Regions from separate parts of the Homo sapiens genome. Here region 2 is linked to region 1. The links are contacts of gene promoters, found by promoter capture Hi-C in human tissues and cell types (Jung and others, 2019). All regions are on one chromosome and are shown on one strand. The core of a region is centred on a gene start or on the middle of the fragment in contact, and the rest is flanking DNA. Distances in the headings are between cores, read along the strand shown.

Region 1 (6,154 bases), core at 1,947-4,446:
GAGCACACACTTAGGGAGGCAGGGGTGGCGAAGGTGAGAGGTGGGCATTGACGTCCTGGTGACTCCCACATTCAGCAGAAACTACGTATGGCTCCCTGCTCCCCCACGTATGCAAGCCCAGTGCAGCAGGGCTGAAGCAGCACCGACTTCAGGGTCACTCAGAGAAGCGTCAGGGGCCCCTCGGCTCTGGCCTGCCCCTCGGCAGTGTGGTCTCCCACGGACGAAGGCTCCACGTGCCGCACGGGTCTGGGCTGATCAAATCACCTCTGTCATCACCTGCTTTAGCAACAGGGTGGGAAAGGCCGGGCAGTGCCTGGATGAAGGCACAGGAGGCCCCCTACCTTCTGTGAGCGCCCCCCGTCCCCCGCACAGCGTGCCTCAGTTTCGCCACACTCAACGGCCATGGACCTGAGCCCATGAAGCTCAAACCACGGCCCCAGCACCCTCAGGTGACCGAACTGCATGCTGGGAATAAAACCAACTCATGCACCTTGACCAGTACCGGCCCACAGAACCTTCCAGATGATGCGCACACCTCCCACCGATGCTGGTCCACACCAGCCACCAGCCATGTGTGGCTCCTGGGCACTTGAAATATGTCTAAAGGGAAAACACAACTCAATTTTTCTCTTTTTTTCTTTTTCAGAGACAGGGTCTCACTCTGTCACTCAGGCTGGAGACTCCAACTCCTGGGCGCAAGCAACCCTCCTGCCTCAGCCTCCTGAGTAGCTAAGACCACAGGTGCATGCCACCACACCCAGCTAGTTTGTGTATTTTTGGTAGATATAGGTTTTGCTATGCTGCCAAGGCTGGTCTTGAACTCCTGGCCTCAAGTCATCCTCCTGCCTCAGCCTCCCAAAGTCCTGGGATTACAGGCATGAGCCACTGCACCTGGCCCCAGAATTTTCTAATATTACTTTTTAAAAATGTTCCCTTAGAAATTCACAGTTTCTATCATTCCACATGGCTCATTTTCTTTTTTCTTTTTTTTTTTTGTTTGAGATAGAGTCTTGCTCTGTCACCCAGGCTGGAGTACAGTGGCACGATCTCAGCTCACTGCAACCTCCGCCTCCTGGGTTCAAGCAATTCTCCTGCCTCAGCCTCCCAAGTAGCAGGGATTACAGGCATGCGCCACCATGCCCAGCTAATGTTTTTGTATTCTCAGTAGAGACGGGGTTTCACCATGTTGGCCAGGGTGGCCTTGAACTCCTGACCTCAAATGATCCGCCCACCTCAGCCACCCAAAGTGCTGGGATTACAGGTGTGAGCCACCGCACCTGGCCGATTCATCTTCATTTGTTTCCCGCCAGCCCCAGAACAGCCTGGGGCAGACATTCTTGTTTCTTTTGTTCACTTGTCCATTAGCAGTGCTCTAAGCGCAGAGCCCAGCACACAGGAAGTGCTCAAGAAAAGGATTGTTGAATGAATGAATGAGCCTCATCCAGAACACAAAATTCACCCAACTGCACTGCTGAATCCTTTGGTCTCTGACTAGCTTCCACCTCGTAAATCAGGAGTGGACAAGCTTTCCTGCCAAAGGCTGGAGTCTCTGCTCCCACTACTCAACTCTGCCCTTCTGGTGTGAGAGCAGCCACTAACCGTATGTGAATCATTTGGCTGTGTGCCGTAAACCTTTACTTACCAACACTGAAATCTGAATTTCATACCTCTTTCAGGTGTCAGAAATGTTCTTTTTCACCCACCCCCATTTAAAAATGTGAAGTCCATTCATAGCTCCCAGACCTTAAAAAAACAGCCAGGGGCAGGGTTTGGGGGGCCCTAGCTTACCACCTCTGTTTTACTTTATTTATTTCTATTTATTAATTATTATTATAATTATTGAAACAGAGTCTCACTGTGGTCCAGGCTGGAGTGCAGTTGCGTGATCTCAGCTCACTGCAACCTCCGACTCCCAGGTTCAAGTGATTCTCCTGCCTCAGTCTCCTGAGTGGCTGGGATTACAGGCCCATGCCACCACACCCGGCTAATTTTTGTATTTTTAGTAGAGACAAGGTTCCACCATGTTGGCCAGGCTGGTGTCCAACCTCTGACCTCAAGTGATCCACCCACCTCGGCCTCCCAAAGTGCTGGGATTATAGGCGTGAGCCACCGCACCGGCCACTTATTTATTTTTGAGACACAGTCTGGCTGTGTTGCCTAGGCTGTATCCTCCCACTTTAGCCTCCAAGAAGCTGGGGCTACAAGTGTCCACCACCACACCCAGTAATTTTTTTTTTTTTTTGAGACAGTCTCGCACTGTCACCTGGGCTGGAGTGCAGTGGTGCGATCTCGGCTCACTGCAAACTCTGCATCCCGGGTTCAAGCGATTCTCCTGCCTCAGCCTCCCGAGTAGCTGAGATTACAGGCGCCTGCCACTATGCCCAGCTAACTCTGTTTTGTTTTTGTTTTTGTTTTTGTTTTGTTTTTTCATTTTTAGCAGAGACGGGGTTTCACCATGTTGGCCAGGCTGGTCTCGAACTCCTGGGCTCAAGCGATCCTCCCGCCTCATCCTCCGAAAGTGCTGGGCTTACAGGCCTGAACCACAGCGCCCGGCCTCCACCCCTGTCAGAAGAACCCTCTGAAAATCGGTCCCACTCTACGGAGGAGTAGAGGGAGACTCGGAGAGGATACGGACCGTGCCCATGTTGCGGGGGTTCCCAGGGCGTGGGGTCAGGAGTTAGGGGTGTGCTTCTCTCCCGTCCCCTTGCTGCCGGGGTCTCAGGTCCGCTTTTCCCCGGGACCGGGCTCCCCCTACCTTCCGGGGCCAGGATGGTGAACACTGGATCCTCTGCCGGCGCACCCCGCACATCCTCCAGGATCTGCTCCACCGTGGGGGGCGCTGGGCGGGTGGGCAGCAGCACGCGCTTCTTTGCCTTGGAGCCCATCTCTGAAGGCGGGGAAGGGGGCGCTGACCGGGGCGTCCACCTCTCCGCCCTTGCCCGGGCTGCTCCTCCCGCCCAGCGAACTCGTACGCACCCGTCGCGGTCCCGCTCCCGGGGAAGCCCGCCCTGTCCCGCCCCTCTGAGCTCGCCCCAGGCCCTGACCCTCCCTCCGCCCAAAAACACGGTGGCCAAGGCTTCAGGGTCTGGCTCAACCTCTGCCTCAGTTTCCCCGCGGTCACCCCAGTCGCCGGCCTCTTCCCACCTGGGCGCGGGACCCGAAAGCCCAGCGTCGACGACGCAGCCACTTCCGATTCCGGTCGGAGCACCGCCCCGTCCCCGAACACGTGACACACACTTCCGGCCTCCTCTCCCGCCGGCCCGCCGCTCATCGCGGGGCTCCGCCCCGTCTTAAAGGGATAGTGCCCTTGAGACTCGGATCTCAGCCTCTCAGGCGAACCCGAACCTGGACGCGCTACGATGAGAGCGAGTTCGAGTCCAGGCTCCACTGGCTGGGTAGAAAAGCATCCGAGGCTCGTCTTTCTGAAAAGGGGAACACGGCACTAGGGGACACGCCACCCATGTGGCTGACGGGAGCACAAAATTGCTGTCCACCTAAGGGAGCCTGGTGGTGCATGAGCACTCGGCGGCCGGAACACAGCGGGGGCGGGGCGGTCGCGGCGCCTCCACTTCCGGCCAAGGCGGGTCCTCCCACCTCGGGGACGGTGCTGGAGGTCACCTTTTCCTCTCCGCTGATGCCTGGGAAGGCAGAAAGAGCAGAGGGCCCTTTTCCTCTCTCAGGGGCTTTATTGAGATGCAGTTTACATACCATAAAGTTCTCCTGTTTATTTCGTTTTGTTTTGTTTTTTTAGAGACAGAGTCTCACTGTGTCGCCCAGGCCGGAGTGCAGTGGCGTGATCTCAGCTCACTGCAACCTCCGCCTCCCGAGTTCAAGCAATTCTCCTGCCTCAGCCTCCCGAGTAGCTGGGACTACAGGCGCCCGCCACCACGTCCGTCAAAATTTTTTTTTGTATTTTAGTAGAGATGGGGCTTCACTGTGTTGCCCAGGCTGGTGTCAAACTCCTGAGCTCAGGCAATCCGCCCGCCTCAGCCTCCCAAAGTGCTGGGATTACGGGCGTGAGCCACCGCGCCCGGCCAAATTCGCCTGTTTAAACTGTAAATTCAGCCTGGGCGCGGTGGCTCATGCCTGTAATCCCAGCACTTTGGGAGGCCGAGGCGGGCAGATCACTTGAGGCCAGTTTGAGACCAGCCTGGCCAACATGGTGAGACCCCGTCTCTACTAAAAATACAAAAATTAGGCTGGGTGTGTTGGCTCACGCCTGTAATCCCAGCGCTTTGGGAGGCCGAGGTGGGTGGATCACGAGGTCAGGAGATCAAGACCATCCTGGCTAACATGGTGAAACCCTGTCTCTACTAAAAATACAAAAAGAAAAACAAAATTAACCAGGCATGGTGGCGGTTGCCTGTAGTCCCAGCTACTCAGGAGGCTGGGGCAGGAGAATGGCATGAACCCGAGAGGCAGAGCTTGCAGTGAGCCGAGATCGTGCCACTGCACTCCAGCCTGGGCGACAGAGCAAGACTCTGTCTCAAAAAAAAAAATATTGTTGAGAGAGAAGGAAGGAAGGAAGGGACAGAGAGAGGGAAAAGGAAAGAAAGAGAAAGAAAGGAAAGAAGGAAGGAGAAGAAAAAGGAAGGAAGGAGAGAGAGAAAGAAAAAAAAGAAAAAGGAAATAAAGAGAAGAAAGTAAAGAAGAAAAGGGAGAAAAGAAAGGAAAGGAAGGAAAGAGAAGGAAGAACGGAAGAAAGGAAGGCGAGAGAGAAAGAAAAAGAAAAGAAAGAGGAAGAAAGAAAAAGGAAAGAGAAAGAAGGAAAGAAAGAAAGAAAAGGAAAGGAAGGAAGGGGCCAGGTGCGGTGGCTCAAGCCTGTAATCCCAGCACTTTGGGAGGCCGAGGTGGGCGAATCACGAGGTCAGGAGATCGAGACCATCCTGGCCAACATGGTGAAACCCATCTCTACTAAAAAAGGAAGGAAAGAGAAGGAAGAAAGGAAGGAAAGAAGGAAGGAAGTAAAGAAAAGGAAGGAAGGGAGGGAGGGAGGAAAGGGCCAGGCACAGTGGCTCACGCCTGTAATCCCAGCACTTTGGGAGGCCAAGGAGGGAAGATTGCTTGAGGCCAGGGTTCAAGGCTGCAGTGAGCTACAATCGCACCACTGTACTCTAGCCTAGTCAACGTAGGGAGACCCTGTCTCAAAACAAACAAGAAAAAAAACAAAGGAATCACCGCAGGAGAGGATTCTGGGCCATGGTGAGCCATGTTCTGGGGCTGGACATTACTGCTGACCCCCGGCCATTCCCTGCTGTTCCCACTGCCTGGGGTCCCTGGGCCTGGGCGGACTCTTTCTCCGTGGCCGGCTGCATTCTCCATGGACTGATGTCCGGGGACCCCAAGCAGAAACCACCTGAGCCCTGGGGCCTCGGGCCCACCCTGCTCCAGAGGAGGCCACAGACTGAGCACCTTCTAAGCAACCTTTATTTGCAAACTCTGAGGTTGGACGCGGTGCCCGAGGCGGACAGTGTCACGTTTCTCTCCCTCCACTTTCCCCTGGCTTTTGGGGTGCTCCAGCCTCTCCCCCCAGCCCACTCCCGCCCAAACCCAAAATGCAGAGGAGACTTCTCTCTCTCTCTCTCCCGCCAGGCTTCGGGGTTCCACGGGGCCCATCCCTGGCAGGCCAGGCGTCGGGTGCTGGTGCTCGCTCCTCTGGGGCCAGCCTGGGGAGGCAGCATGGCAGCAGTGCCTGTCAGGGACCCAGGCGGGGGCAAGGTCGCTTTCTGAGCTGACAACTTCAGGTTCCAGCTGGCAGCCAGACCTGGGGTTTGGTGGGGGTGGCCCTGGCACGGGAGAGCCAGGCGTATAGTGGGAGGTCCATGGACATGCCGCAGAGGACGGGGCCTCCGAGGGTCACGGCCAGGAGGCTCAGCACCATGGCCGAGGCTGGGCAGCGGTGGTGGGGACAGGCGGCAGCTCTAAGCCGGGGGCGGCTGTCGGGGGTGGTGGGTCCCATGCAGGAGCCCTGCTGCTGGTCCAGCGTGGAGGATGGGGGACAGGAGGTGCAGTCCCTCGGGGAGCCGCCGCGGCAGGTGTAGCAGGAGGCATGGCAGCTGGAGCAGACCCTCAGCGCGGGCGCCGCCGTGTGCCCAGGCCCAGCGGTCACCAGCCTTGTGTGGTTGAAGAACCGCGGGGGGCAGTAGGCCAGGCA
Region 2 (6,154 bases), core at 1,159-3,658, 270 kb after region 1:
CTGGGCTGCCCCTTCCAAGTCTAGGGAGCTTTGGAAGGGGTCTGTGGCCACCTTAGCGTGTCCTGAGGCAGCAGAGGGGAGAGGCCCTCTTCCTCTCGGAGTCCCTGACCCTCGTCTTCTCTTTCAAAATGGATGCTTTCCCTGCTAGAAAAGCCACACACGCTTGCTATTAAAATGAACACGATCATCAAGCTGTAAAAAATATATTTAAAAGGAAGCCTGCAAAATCCCAGCTCCCTAGGAGCTCCCCCACATTGGCATTTGGGGGAACTTCCTTCCACCTTGTTATCCTCCCACCCGTAGAGACCCCCAGCCCCCACCTGGTCTGCGCTTCTTGAGCCTGGGATGCTAGCGTTTTATGGCGGCTGATTGATTTTTAGATCTCACGATTATTTTTAATTATCTGTGATTGTTGGAGGGTGAGAATGAGGAGCGCAGGCTGGGGCTCTGTGCAGCCACATCCCCCCCGCCGAGATTCAGCATCTGCACGGGGAGTGGGGTACGCGACTGTTCGGACCTGCCCCTCTCTTCCCACCTGGAAGATGGGTGTAATTATGTAAACTCCAGAAATTATACCTGAACCCTGGAACTGGAAAGTTTAGGGACCGACACTTCAGGGGGCAGGAGTTAGCACTTGGGCAGATGTAGGAATGAAGGGGGGAACTCTAGGGCCACCACCCCCCCACCTTGGGCCAGAGACACCCGGAAAAATTGTGATTTGACTTCCCCCTCTCTGGGGCTGAGAGAGGAGAGTATGCCTGGTAAATAACAGGCACTTACTAAATGCCGAGCCCTAAGCAGCGAGTACTAACAGGGGTCCCCTTCAGCCCTATCCCTCCCCAGGACTTGGATCAGGCCACCTCAGGCTGGGGGCCCAGATCATTCAGGCCCCCTCTCTCTCTGGCTGTTGTGGTCAGCATAGACTCACCTCCGGCTCCCAGCTGGGCAGGCTGGAGGGCACCCCCTCCCACACCAGAGAAGGGGAAACTGAGGCACAGAAAGGGCCCTATTCCAGAGCCAACCTAGTCTTGGTTCAGAAAATCGCATCTCCAATGTGTAGCCACGTCTACAGGGGCCAGGAAATCTGGATGCAGGTGCAAAGCTGGGGCCGGGGTTTGCCCAGAAGGTTTGCACCAAAGGGGAAGTGACAGCCTGACTGTGTCCTCCCCTCTTCCTTCAGCTTTGAGCCCTGATGCAACCCTCTGAGATGGGGGTAACTGGGGGCTCCCGCGAACCGACTGCCTGACCCATCCCCTTCCTCTTCTAGAAAGTGCACAAGCGTTACCCCGGGGGTGGGGGGGGCAGAGGCAACGGGGAAGCAGGAAGGGGCTGAGGCTGGTTTTGGACTCTGCACCGTAGCCTCTGGCCTACAAGACAGAGCATCCTCTAGATTCTGGTCTGGCCCCTCCAGATCCGCAGCCCTGACCTTACCCCACTGGCGGGATCTAGTCCCCTGGGGGTCTCTCTGATTATAGGAGCCCTTCCCCCATCTATCCCAGTTCCCAGGGGCCCCTGGGGCTCACCTGTCTCCAGGTGCTGAGAAAAAGGAGACCCCTGCCTCCCCCCACATTGAAGAGAAGCCCCAGGGACAAAGAGGAGTTTGCACCAGCGACGTCTCAGAAGACAGGGGATCCAGCCTCAGCCTCCGTGGGCTGGAGGGTGACAGGGGCTCTTAGTGGTCACCCCCAGGCTCCAGTGCCTCCAGCGGCCGCACTGTAAAAAGGCCCTGCAATTAGAAGGGGCCTTTGGCAACCCCGAGGCCGGGCAGCCCATTGTACAGTTGGGGAAACGGAGGCCCAGGTGCCCACACATGGGCAGAGGCTGACCCCTGGGGCGCACGGAGGCCCTGACCTAGCCTTAGGACCTCCCTTTTCCCCCACTTCCTCCACAAAGAGGTTGTGGGAAGGGGGCTGTGACTCCGTAGGTGTGAGTGGGAGTCGGGGGAAGCTGAGCTTGCAGTGGGGATCTAGCTCCTGGGGGTCTGTAGGGAACGGGGGGGGGGGGGGACACGTACATTACAGGCGACCGTCCAGCCACACTCCCAGAAACTCCCTGGAGATGGACTTGGGGGTGCCAGGCAGAAAGCCACATCTGGGACTCTGGAGAGAATCACACAGAGACGCGAAATCGGAGACTCTGGGTCGAGGCCCCCAGCCCCACCTGGGCAGAGTCTGTCCTCGGACCCCCGCCCGCTGTCCCCCGGGTACGGCCTGCCCCAGCGGGCGCGGGCGGGCGCAGTGGCCAGGGACGCCGAAGCCCCAAGTCTGGCCGACTTCGGCCTGCTTGGTGCTCGAGTGGGGCCGGGGCGGGCGGAGAGCGAGGCTGCGGGAGGCAGCGGTGGCAGGAGCGGGTGGGCGGGGGCGCTGACGTCAGACCCGGGCCCGGGCGCCGGCGGCCGCTCCCCTGCCACATCCTGGTGGCCGCGCTCGCAGCCGGGCCGGGCCGTGCGCCGCGCAGCCTGGCAGCCTCGCGCGCAGCCACCGGGGAGCGGGCGGGAGTCATGCAGCGGCCTTGAGCACTAGGGGCCGGCGCTGAGGAGCGCGCGCGGCGGGAGGGCAGCCGAGCATGGAGCTGAGCCTGGAGAGCCTGGGGGGCCTGCACAGCGTGGCCCACGCGCAGGCGGGCGAGCTGCTGAGCCCGGGCCACGCGCGCTCGGCGGCGGCGCAGCACCGCGGCCTGGTGGCGCCCGGGCGCCCGGGCCTGGTGGCCGGCATGGCGAGCCTGCTGGACGGCGGCGGCGGCGGCGGCGGTGGGGGCGCCGGGGGCGCGGGCGGCGCGGGCAGCGCGGGCGGCGGCGCGGACTTCCGCGGGGAACTGGCGGGCCCGCTGCACCCGGCAATGGGCATGGCCTGCGAGGCGCCGGGCCTGGGCGGCACCTACACGACGCTCACGCCCCTGCAGCACCTGCCGCCGCTCGCGGCCGTGGCCGACAAGTTCCACCAGCACGCGGCGGCCGCGGCCGTGGCCGGGGCGCACGGCGGCCATCCCCACGCGCACCCGCACCCGGCGGCCGCGCCGCCCCCGCCACCCCCGCCGCAGCGTCTGGCGGCCAGCGTGAGCGGCAGCTTCACCCTCATGCGCGACGAGCGGGCGGCGCTCGCCTCCGTGGGCCACCTCTACGGACCCTACGGCAAGGAGCTGCCCGCCATGGGGTCGCCGCTGTCGCCGCTGCCCAACGCGCTGCCGCCCGCGCTGCACGGCGCCCCGCAGCCCCCGCCGCCGCCACCACCCCCGCCGCTGGCCGCCTACGGCCCGCCAGGCCACCTGGCTGGGGACAAGCTGCTGCCGCCCGCCGCCTTCGAGCCGCACGCCGCGCTGCTGGGACGCGCGGAGGACGCACTGGCCCGCGGGCTGCCCGGAGGCGGCGGCGGCACAGGCAGCGGCGGAGCGGGCAGCGGGAGCGCCGCGGGGCTGCTGGCGCCGCTGGGCGGGCTGGCGGCGGCCGGGGCGCACGGGCCGCACGGGGGAGGCGGCGGCCCCGGCGGGAGCGGCGGCGGCCCCAGCGCGGGCGCAGCGGCCGAGGAGATCAACACCAAGGAGGTGGCGCAGCGCATCACGGCGGAGCTGAAGCGCTACAGCATCCCGCAGGCAATCTTCGCGCAGCGGATCCTGTGTCGCTCTCAGGGCACGCTCTCCGACCTGCTGCGCAACCCCAAGCCGTGGAGCAAGCTCAAATCCGGCCGCGAGACCTTCCGCAGGATGTGGAAGTGGCTGCAGGAGCCAGAGTTCCAGCGCATGTCGGCGCTGCGCTTGGCAGGTAGGAGCGTGGCGCGCAGGGCCAGACCCTGGGGGCGCCGGCTCTGGACTCCCGAGCACCTAGCGGGGCGGCGGCCGATGCCCGGGGCCAGCGCCCCAAGCCCCGCCCGTGCGCCCCGGCAGCCCGGGACCCCCTATCAGGAAGCTAGACCGCGATCCGCGCCGCTGCCCGTTTGTACCGTTGCCAAAAGGGAGAAAGGGATTGTGCCGCCTCCCCGCCCCCCGGTCGCCGCTTCTGCCCCTTTCGGGAGCGCGTAGGGGTTCTCTAGTCCTTGTTAGACTGCTGGGAGGCTCCGAGCCTCTCCCCAAGCAGCCCTCAGGGAAGCTCATTGTGTGTGTGCGTGTGTGTGTGTGAGCGCGCGCCTGTTGGGGGGAGCTGTGTCCCCGAACGAGCTGCTGTTGTCGGCTAAGGTGCCACTCCCCTCCTCCAGAGTGGGTGGAGAGGGGCTGTTGAGCCCCCAGCCCCGGGCCACAGAGCTCCGAGACGTTGCGGCGGGCGCCTGCAGCTCAGCAGCAGAGGCCGAGCCCGCGCTCATCCCCCCACCTGCCCCAGCGCGCGCTTCTTTGTAGTTCGGCCCCGCGATCGATACCCCCTCCCTCTCCCCTCCGGCCGCTGGCAAAGGTCACCCGAGAATGGCGGGGGAGGGGCGGCCCCGGGGACCCTCGGCCCGCGCCGCCCGGAGGCCTTCACACCCCGACCCGGCGCCCGCCCCGCGCAGTTTGGTCGTGGCTCGGGTGCGCGCGCCCCTGCCCGCCTGGCTTTGGGGTTTTGTGTCTCTCATGTCCACTTCTCTCCTCTCTCGGTCGGAACACACTGGTATCTCTATGTTTTTCTCTTGCTCTCCGTTTTGCTCTTGTTCCTGCTCATTATCTCTTCTCCCTGTCGGTCTCTCCGCCTCTGTCTCTGTCTCATACTCAGCCACCGGCCCCCTGGGGACCCTCCTCCCTCCTCCCTCCCAGCTGACAACAGCTAAGTCCACACCTGCCCTCTGACAGGCAGCCCGGCCAGGCCCCCATTTCCTAGGTGGGGGTGTAAGGGTGCAGGAGGGCCCCTGGCCTAGGTGGGGGTTTCTTTCCCTGGTGGTGCTGGGGAGGGGGCTGTCCACCCGGGCCACAGGGACAATAGCCGCGGCGGCTGGCGCCTGATCGATCGCTTCTCCGAGCACAAGGGCGAGAAAGGCGGGGGCTCTGGGAGGCGCCCCACTAGCAAAGAGGCAGAGGGGCTTGCGGCTGTGCCCCCAGGCAGCCCGTCCAGGCAGGGGGGCTGGGCGAAGAGAGGACAGCGGGGTGTCCTGTGCTGTTCCTCCCTAGAAAGCCATTCCCTCCCTCCACCCCAGGAGGACCAGACAACCCCCTGGGAGCCTGGACCCACAGGCCGGCCTCAGTTTCCCCCTTCTGCAGAGCAAGCAAGGTGACTAGCTGGAACCTCTTATGGGATTCTTAGATTTTTCTGCTTTGGGGCACGGGAAAATAAATAGTCTTTCGCGTGTGGCAGGGTAACCTTGTGCTCAGGGAGGTCCGGGAACCTGGACGATTTCAGTCTGTCCTGCTCCCCTCCCCATGACACATACAGCGGCACTCGTGCGCTCACCATAGACCGGCGGTCATATCCGCACACAGCCACGGCCCTCGAGGTGCAGTGCGAGGCCTCAGGTGGCAGAGGGCACACCCCTGGCAGCTCTATTTATTTATTGAGACGGAGTTTCACTCTTGTCGCCCAGGCTGTAGTGTAGTGGTGCGATCTCGGCTCACTGCAGCCTCTGCCTCCCAGGTTCAAGCGATTCTTCCGCCTTAGCCTCCTGAATAGCTGGGATTACAGACGCCCGCCACCACGCCTGGCTATTTTTTTTTTTTTTTTTTTTTTTTGTATTTTTAGTAGAGATGGAGTTTCACCATGTTGGCCAGGCTGGTCTCAAACTCCTGACCTCAGGTGATCCGCCCGCTTCTGCCTCCCAAAGTGCTGGGATTACACAGGCTTGAGCCACCCCGCCGGGCCTCCCTCTGACGTTTAAACACCAACTGGTTGCCATCACACCAGTAAGGCAGGGACAGTTTCTATAGCCCGATACCCACCACCTCCTGCCTCCTCTCTAGCACATATTTGGGGGACATTGTGTCCACCGTGGGTGCACCCAGAGTCCACACCACTCTCCATTTTTCCCACTGTCACGTTATGTAACTAATGACCCATTAGCAGTACTGGAATTGCAGATTTGGGGGCCACAGAAAACATCAGCCAGAGCGTCACAGAAGGGCAAACCGCAGGCGAGAAGTCCCATGGGGGGGGGGTGGGCTCCCCGCAGCCGGGTCAGCAGCACCCAGCACCCGCCCTGAGTGGACACCGCCTGCTTCGCCTGCACCTGACCCTGCACCCAGGTGGGTGTTCGCTCCTGCCGAC

What was found. Contacts are between HindIII fragments. The study calls those that stand out against the background at their distance.
Region 2: a contact is called between the fragment with the promoter of ONECUT3 here and the fragment with the promoter of C19orf25 in region 1, in 11 of the 25 tissues and cell types used here (H1 embryonic stem cells, IMR-90 fibroblasts, bladder and 8 more).

What each region holds. Positions count from the first base shown.
Region 1 is chr19:1,476,019-1,482,172 of GRCh38, forward strand. It overlaps C19orf25 (chromosome 19 open reading frame 25), which reads right to left and starts at 3,197. Exons shown (of 3, transcript NM_152482.3): 1 at 3,145-3,197; 2 at 2,756-2,887. The coding sequence starts at 2,885. It overlaps PCSK4 (proprotein convertase subtilisin/kexin type 4), which reads right to left. Exons shown (of 15, transcript NM_017573.5): 15 at 5,410-6,154. The coding sequence ends at 5,741. RefSeq lists enhancers at 2,382-2,882, 3,244-3,363 and a silencer at 2,974-3,023. The HindIII fragment of the contact is 27,509 bases long and covers 1-6,154 here.
Region 2 is chr19:1,751,098-1,757,251 of GRCh38, forward strand. It overlaps ONECUT3 (one cut homeobox 3), which reads left to right and starts at 2,409. Exons shown (of 2, transcript NM_001080488.2): 1 at 2,409-3,757. The coding sequence starts at 2,566. RefSeq lists an enhancer at 6,105-6,154. The HindIII fragment of the contact is 24,245 bases long and covers 1-6,154 here.